Regions from separate parts of the Homo sapiens genome. Here region 1 is linked to region 2. The links are contacts of gene promoters, found by promoter capture Hi-C in blood cells and fetal thymus (Javierre and others, 2016). All regions are on one chromosome and are shown on one strand. Each heading gives the region's core, a stretch centred on a gene start or on the middle of the fragment in contact. The rest is flanking DNA. Distances are from core to core; before and after follow the strand shown.

Region 1 (4,414 bases), core at 360-2,859, 350 kb before region 2:
TGGTGGCGATGGAGCCAGTGGCAGCAGCCTCACCTGGAAGCTTGTTAGAAAGGCACATTGCAGGGCCTCAGGCCAGACCTACTGAGGCAGAGACAGGTGGGCCGCAGTCAGCCCTGCAGGTGATTCTGAGGCTGCGGACTGGGAGGACCCCCACCTGTGCACCAAGCAGTTCCCATCCAGCTCCCATCCAGCACGAGGCTCCGTCGTCTGTCTCTGTCACAAGACCCAGAAATGAATGGCAGGGAGCTTGCCCGAGAGGACACACGTGTGAGGGGCCCCTCGACCCCTCGGACGCAAGTGCACCAACCCCTGGGCCGTCCCTCGCCCTGCATGCTGGGGCCACAGCATGGGAAGAGACATCAGCGCTGCCGCTCCGTCTCTACACATCTGTAAAGGGAGCTCCCAGGGACCTGGCACGTCCACAGGTGCGTGTGTTCAGAGAAAGACGGAAACCCAGCCTACAAGGGTTCACAGACACCCAAGAGGCATTACGTCCCTCTCCACTTAATTCTTTGAAATGTTGATAGGCCGGGTGTGGTGGTTCATGCCTGTAAAATCCAGCACTTTGGGATGCTGAGTGGAGAGGATCACTTGAGCCCAGGAGTTCGAGACCAGCCTGGGGAACAGAGGGAGACCCCATCTCTACCAAAAATTTTTAAAATGAGCCGGGCGTGTTGGTGGCCCATGCCTGTAATCCCAGCACTTTGGGAGGCCAAGGCGGGCAGATCTCTTGAGGCCAGGAATTCAAGACCAGCCTGGACAGCATTGGGAAACCCCGTCTCTACAAAAAAATTTTAAAAATGAGTGGGCATGGTGGCGCACACCTGCAGTCTGAGCTACTCAGGAGTCTGAGATGGAAGAATCACCCGAGCCTGAGAAATCGAAGCTGCAGTTACCCAAGATTGCACTCACTTTTTTTAAACAAGTGAGACCTTGTTTAAAAAAAAAATTTTGTAAATCATAAATGAGTGCATTAATACAACATGTACTTTTTTTGTCTTGCCTCTTTCACTCATCAGTTTTGATGTCCATCTATGTTGGGGTGTCCATCAATAGTTCATTCCTTTTTGCTGCTGCGTAATATTCCATTCTATAGATAAGCCACAGTGTGTTCACCCACTCAGCTTTTGACGTGTGTTTGAGGTCTTTCCAGGTTTTGGCTATTACAAATAAAGCTTCTTCCAACATTTGTGTACATGTCTTTGTATGGATAGGTACTTTCATTTCTCTTGGATAAACATCTAGTAGAATGGCAGTCATGGTGGATGTATACTAAATTTTTAAGAAACTACCATTCTATTTTCCAGAGTGGCGGGACCATTTCCACCAGCCCTGTGCAAGAATTCCAGTTCCTCCCATATTTGCCAACACTAGCTAATCAGTTTTTAATTTTAGCCATTTTAATAGGTACATAGTTGTATCTCATTATGGTTTTAGTTTGCATTTCCCTAATGTCTAATGAGGCTGAGCATCTTTTCATATGCTTATTTGCCATCTGTGTATCTTTTTTGGTGAAGAGTCTTTTTAAATATTGACATGGTTTGGCTGAGTGTCCCCACCCAAATCTCATGTTGAACTATAATTCCCAGTGTTGAGGGAAGGACCTGGTGGGAGGTGATTGGATCATGGGGATGGATTTCTCCCTTGCTGTTCTCATGATAGTGAGTTCTTATGAGATCTGGTTGTTTAAAAGTGTGCCTTCTCTCTCCCGTCGCCATGTGAAGATGTGCCTGGTTCCCCTTCACCTTCTGCCATGATTGGAAGTTTCCTGAGGCCTCCCCACCCATGGAGAACTGTGAGTCAATTAAACCTCTTTTCTTCATAAACAAGCCAGTCTCAGGTAGTTCTTTATGGCAATGTGAGAACGGACTAATACAAATATCTTGCCCATTTAGACAAAACTGGGTTGTGTTCTTCCTGAATATTGAGAATTCTTCATATATTCTAGGTACAAGTCCTTTATCATATATCTATGATTTGCAAATATTTTCTCTCATTCCATAGCTTGTCTTTTCATTATTTTAACAATGTCGTTTGAAGAAGATAAGCTTTTTATTTTGAATGAAGTCTAATTTATCAATTTCTTTTTTAATGGATTGTGCTTTTGGTGTTGTATCTAGGAAATCTTTGCCTAACCCAAGGACACAAAGTCTTCAGTTCCTGAAGCTCAAAAAGCTGTTGTTGCCAGGCACAGTGGCTCACGCCTGTAATCCCAGCACTTTGGGAGGCCAAGGTGGGAGGGTCGCTTGAGCCCAGCTTGGGAATCATAAGGAGACCCTGTCTCTCCAGAAAAAAAAAAAAAAAAAACTAACCTGGCATGTTGGTGCATACCTGTAATTCCAGCTACTCGGGAGGCAGAGGCGGGAGGATCTCCTGGGCCTAGGATGTTGAGGCTGTAGTGAGCTACGATTGCACCACTGCACTCCAACCTGGGCAATCGTGCGAGACCCCATCTCAAACAAACAAACAAAAAGCTCTTGTCATAGGCCAGGCACGGTTGCTTATGCCTGTAATCCCAGCACTTTGGGAAGCCAAAGGCTGGTGGATCACTTGAGGTCAGGAGTTCAAGACCAGCCTGGCCAAGATAGTGAAACCTCATCTATACTGAAAATACAAAAATTAGCCGGGGCTGGTGGTGGGCGCTTGTATCAAAGCTACTCAGTAAGCTGAGGTGAGAGAATTGCTTGAACCCAGGAGACGGACGTTACAGTGAGCTGAGATCACGCCACTGCACTCCAGCCTGGGTGACAGAGTGAGACTCTGTCTCAAAAAAATAAATAAAAACAACTCATCTATTTGTTCTTACCTACACTGTGATTCAAAGGCAATTTCTACTTCCCTTTGTAATCCCCTTTCTGTGACCTAAATGAAGAGCTGAGGTTACTGGAGGGTGGGAGCTGGTTGGTTGAAGAAAAAACACTCACCTTTTTGTAGCCAAAGACAGCCTTCTATATCAGTATGGGATGATCTCCAAAACACATTGTTAATTTTAAAAAACAAGGAGCACAGGCTGGGTGCGGTGGTTCACGCCTGAAATCCCAGCACTTTGTGAGGCCGAGGCGGGCAGATCACGAGGTCAGCAGTTCGAGACCAGCCTGGCCAACATAGTGAAACCCCGTCTCTACTAAAACTACAAAAATTAGCTGGGTGTGGTGGCGCATACCTGTAATCCCAGCTACTCGGGAGGCTGAGGCAGGAGAATTGCTTGAACCTGGGAGGTGGAGGTTGTGGTGAGCCGAGATCTTGCCACTGCACTCCAGCCTGGGCGACAAAGTGAGACTCCGTCTGAAGAAAAAAAAAAAAGGGAGCTGCTTCTTTTGCTTAGGCATAAAAAATTTCTGGAGGGGACAAAAGAAACCAGTTGAACAGTGAGGCCTCTGGAGAAGGGACCTGAGTGCCCCAGGGACTGGAGTGAGAGTCCAGTCTTTACCTCTTGGTACCATGGAATTTACTCCTCTCGGTTCCATGGAATTTACTCCTCTCGGTACCATGGAATTTACTTTTAGTGCACGTATTTATTACCCAGTCAAAAACAACTCTGCTGAGACTAACCTGTAATCGAAGCCTCACTGACACCTGATGCTGTTCTCGGCTCACAAGTCAGCACACTTGTTTCTTCTGTATCACGAACCCCTGTCCCAGGGAAGGGTGTTCAGGATGTCAAAGCAAAAGCTTTATCAGAAAGTTGTCTTGGGCAGGGTGTGGTGGCCCACGGCTGTAATCGCAACACTTTGGGAGGCTGAGGCAGGAGGATTGCTTGAACCTGAAAGTGGAGGCTGCAGTGGGTCTTGATGGCATCATGGCACTCCAGCCTGGGTGACAGAACAAGACCCCATCTCAAAGCAAACAAACAAAACTTGTCTTATTGAGAAATGAAAATGCAGAGACTTGTAGCCAAGTGCTCATAGCAGCTTTATTCTAGCCTCAAATTGGAAAAAACCCAAATGTCCATCAACAGTCCATCTGCAGTATAAACAAACTACAGTCTATCCAGACAACAGAATACGATTCTGTAGTCGAACGACAGGGCACACTGCAACGGAGACAGCTCCCACAGACACCAGGCCAGTGAGGAAAGACTGTATCTCATATAATTTATATGGAACTCGAGAACAGGCAAAGCTGTTCTATAGTCCTTTCTTTTTTCCTCTGAGCCAGGGTCTCACTCTGTCACCCAGGCTGGAGCACAAGGGTGCCCTCACAGCTCACTGCAGCCCCAGCCTCCCAAGCTCAAGCGATCCTCCCGCCTCAGCCTCCGGAGTAACTGGGACTACAGATGCACACCACCACCCCCAGCTAATTTTTTATTTTTAGTAGAGACGAGTTCTCACTATGTTGCCCAGACTGGTCTCGAACTCTCCGGCTGAAACGAACCTCCTAACTCAGCCTCCCAAAGTGCTGGGAGGACAGGCAT
Region 2 (4,311 bases), core at 938-3,437:
ATATATAAATATAAGTATATATAAATTTATATAAATGTGTATATAAATATATATACATAAATATATATAAATATATACATAAATATATAAATATATATACATAAATATGTATAAATATACATAATTATAAATATATACACAAATATATAAATATATATAAACATATATAAATATATAAAATATATATAAATATATATAAACATATATAAATATATAAAATATATATAAATATATATAAACATATATAAATATATATAAACATAAATATATAAATATATAAACATATAAATATATATAAACATATATATAAATATATATAAATATATAAACATATATATAAATATATATAAACATATATATAAATATATATAAACATATATATAAATATATATAAACATATATAAACATATATAAATATATAAACATATATAAACATATAAATATATATAAACATATATAAATATATATAAACATATATATGAACATATATAAACATATATAAACATATAAACATAAACATATATAAACATATATAAACATATATAAATATATATAAATATATAAAAATAAATATATATATGCGGATGTGTGTATAAACTGTGTATATATATAACTATATATATAACCATATATATGTACTTATATATATCATCTACACATATATCATCTCAAGCTTAAGAATTCGTAATCAATACCCCTGATCACCCTCCACAAACCTGAGCTTCCTAGTGTTCATCCTCTCCATAAACATCCATCTGATGAGGTTCACATAGTAGCTCAAGCTTAAAACCTTGGTCCATCCATAAATCCTCTCTTTCTCACATACTCGTCCAACCCACCACAAACTCCTGTTGGTTTACCACTGAAATACACCCAGAATGTGACTCCCTTAAGATCCCATAGGTACCCAGTCCAAGCCACCACCTCTCACGATGGCTTTTAAACTCCTAAATCAGATGGTGTGTCACCTCCACTCAAAAAACTTCCCAAGCTGTCCCCTTCCACTTGGAGGGAAAGTCAAGGTCCTTGCCACTTGGTAAGGTCCACACGACTGCCCTGGCCCCTCCTCGCATCTCTGGGAACTCACCTCCTCTTTCTCTCTCTGTTCCCAAATTGGCTGCAGCCACACTGGGCTCCCTGCTGTTTCCCCTGCACCTGCTGTTTCCTCGACCTGGAATGTTCTGGTGCCTCACTCCTCCTCCTGCTTCCTTTCCATTCTCAAAACCCCTGTTCTCATCTTCTCCATGGCACTTACCATCACCTGCTCTGTGCACCTTGTTCATCTGTCTCTCCCCTCCAGAATGGAAGTTCACTAGATCACAGACTTGTCTCCACTTGTTGACAGCTGTAGCCCAATGCCCCGAACAGTGCAGGAGGAACCCAATGAACGTTTTTTAAAAATGAATGAATGAATGACGGAAGGAAGGAAACGGAAAGCATGCTTATGATGGAAAGTGAGGCCAAGCGCGTTGGCTCACTCCTGTAATCCCAGCACTTTGGGAGGCCGAGGCAGGAGGATCCATCGCTTGAGCCCAAGAATTCGAGACCAGCCTGGGTAACATGGTGAGACCCCATTTCTACAAAAAACATTTTTAAAAATTATCCGGGTGTGGTGGCGCGCGCATGTGGTCCCAGCTACTTGGGAGGATGAGGCGGGAGGACGGCTTGAGCCCAGGAGGTGGAGGCTGCAGTGAGCTATGATCACGCCATTGCACTCCAGCCTGGGTGGCACAGCGAGACACTGCCTCAAAAATTGAAAAAGAGAAAGTGGGAGCTGAAAGCCTCGGAGGGCAATCAGGGCGTCTTCAGAGAAAGACAATGAAACCAGAGCCACTGCAAGCCCTGACGGCCTGAAACCTAGGAGCCAGCTGAGTCCCTTCCACTCGCCCGCGCTGAGTTAACCCAGAGGCGGGTGCGGGTGTCGGAGCCCGCGCCGGGACGCACCGGCCGCACCGGCCGCACCAGCCTCCCCAGCACCGCGGACCCCAGGGCCGCCGCCCGGTCGCGCCGCGCCGGGCCTCCGCGCACCCACGTGGAGGGGGCGGAGCCCCGCGGGAGCCCGCCCCGGGGCTCTGGGTCTCCTGGCGCCCTGACCCGCCGGCCACCCCGCCGCCGCCCCACGCGCCTACCTGCGCCCACCTGCGCCCACGTCGCCCACCTAAGCGTGAACAGCTGCGTCGCGGACGCCGCCTTCCGGCAGGGACCCGCGCCCCAGGTAAGCGTTAGTCCCGCCTTCAGGAGTGCGGAGCCTCCCATTGGACGAGGTCTGCGTCCGTCTCTCCGCCGGCTAATGGCAAGCGGCGGCAGCACGGGGGGCGGTTCCAGGACCGGGCGCGGGCTACTGACGCCATCTCTAGAGGCCTAGAGTTGCTTGGAGAGGAGCTGGTTGCCAAGGCAACCCGCCCTGCCCAGAACAAGTGCAGATGACTAGGTTTGGGCCCCGCAGGGCTTGGGGGTCTGGGGTGCAAGCTGCCCCGGCCGGGCTGGCGTCCCGGGGTGGGGCCTCCGCCGAGGGTCCAGGGTATGGAGCTCGGCTCGGAGTCGAAATGGATGAGCTACGGCTATTGGGATCAACAGGGCTAGGACTTAAACTTCGTGCTGAATTTAAAAAATCAGGATAGGTGCTAAAAAATACACAGGGTGGGTAGTGTTATAATAATGCTTGTGTCCGGGAGCGGTGACTCACGCCTGTGATCCCAGCATTTTGGGAGGCCCAGGCGGGCGGATCGCTTGAGCTCAGGAGTTCGAGACCCGCCTGGCCAACATGACGAAACCCCGTAACCCCGTCTCTGCTAAAAATACAAAAATTAGCCAGGCGTGGTGGCAGGTGCCTGTAATCCCAGCTACTCGGGAGGCTGAGGCAGGAAAATCGTTTAAGCCCGGGAGGTGGAGGTTGCAGTGAGCCGAGATCGTGCCACTGCACTCCAGCCTGGGCGACAGAATGAGACTCTGTTTTAAAAAATAAAAAATAAATTAAAAAAATAAAAATTAGCCGGGTATGGTGGCACGTGCCTGTAGTTCCTGATACTCTGGACGCTGAGGTGGGAGGATCGCTGGAGCCTGGGAGATGGAGGCTGCAGTGAGCTATGATCAAGGCACTGCACTCCAGCCTGGGCAACAGAGCCAGACCCCGTCTAAAAAAAAAAAAGAAAAAAAAGCATGCTTTCAAGTCACCCAGTAAGTTAAGTGCTTGGCAGCCGTATCAAGTATGATGTACGTTGCCTCAGGAATCCAAAGGTGACAAGCAAAGAAGGTGCACTCTTCCTTACTGGTAGAAGATTGTATTTGGTTCCTTTTTCTGCATAACAAATTAACCCAACATTTAGCAGCCTAAAAGAACATTTATTTTTTCATGGTATCCGCGGTCAGGAAAGTGGGCGTGGCTAAGCTCTGTGCCTTTGCCTCAAGGGTTCACCAAGTTGTGGTCAAGGTGTCCCCCCAGGGTTGTGGTTTCATCGGAAAGCTTATCTGGAATGATCCACTCCCAAGCTCACACACACGGATATTGTAAGGACTCAGTCCTCCAAGGTCATTAGAGAAGGGCCTCAGCCTTGCTGGCTGCTGCCCAAAGGCCACCCTCAGTTCCTTGGTACATGGGCCTTACCACAAGGAAGCTCACAACACTGCAGCTGGCTTGCCTTAGACGGTGCAAGCACACACAAGAGGAGGCACACACAAGACGCACATCACAGTCTCCTTGCACCCTAATCTCAGAAGTGACTTCCCTAGGCTTTTGCCATATTCTGTTCATTAGAAGTCGGCCGGGTGCGGTGGCTCACACCTGTAATCCCAGCACTTTGGGAGGCTGAGGTGGATGGATCACTTGAAGTCAGGAGTTCAACACCAGCCTGGCCAACGTGGCAAAACTCCATCTCTACTAAAAATACAAAAATTAGCCAGGCATGGTGGCATGTACCTATAATCCCAGCTACTCAGGAGGCTGAGGCATCAGAACCTATTGAACCCGGGAGGCAGAGGTTGCAATGAGCTGAGACCGCGCCACTGCACTCCAGCCTGGGCGACAGAGCAAGACTCCAGCTCAAAAAAAAAAAAAAAAAAAAAGTGAATCATGGCCAGGTGCAGTGACTCAGGCCTGTAATCCCAGCTCTTTGGGAGGCTGAGTCAGGAGGATGGATGGACACCAGGAGTTCAAGACCAGCCTGGGCAAACAGTAAGACCTCATGTCTACAAAAATAAAAATAGAAAATTAGCTGGGTGTGGTGGTGCACGCATATAGTCCCAGCTACTTAGGAGGCTGAGGTGGAAGGATTGCTTGAGCCTGGAAGATGGAGGCTGCAGTGAACTATGATC

The links. The method cuts DNA at HindIII sites, captures the fragments that hold promoters and counts their contacts. A CHiCAGO score of 5 or more calls a contact.
Region 1: a contact is called between a fragment that was not itself captured here and the fragment with the promoter of CHLSN in region 2, in 2 of 17 cell types (M2 macrophages and naive B cells). The highest score is 8.1, in M2 macrophages.

The regions. Positions count from the first base shown.
Region 1 is chr7:787,729-792,142 of GRCh38, forward strand. It overlaps LOC124901567 (a long non-coding RNA gene), which reads left to right and starts at 1,725. Exons shown (of 2, transcript XR_007060175.1): 1 at 1,725-1,795. The HindIII fragment of the contact is 873 bases long and covers 1,174-2,046 here.
Region 2 is chr7:1,136,060-1,140,370 of GRCh38, forward strand. CHLSN (cholesin) reads right to left here and starts at 2,188. Exons shown (of 5, transcript NM_001318252.2): 1 at 1,256-2,188. RefSeq lists silencers at 1,748-1,797, 1,808-2,257, 2,458-2,597 and an enhancer at 2,318-2,417. The HindIII fragment of the contact is 2,681 bases long and covers 781-3,461 here.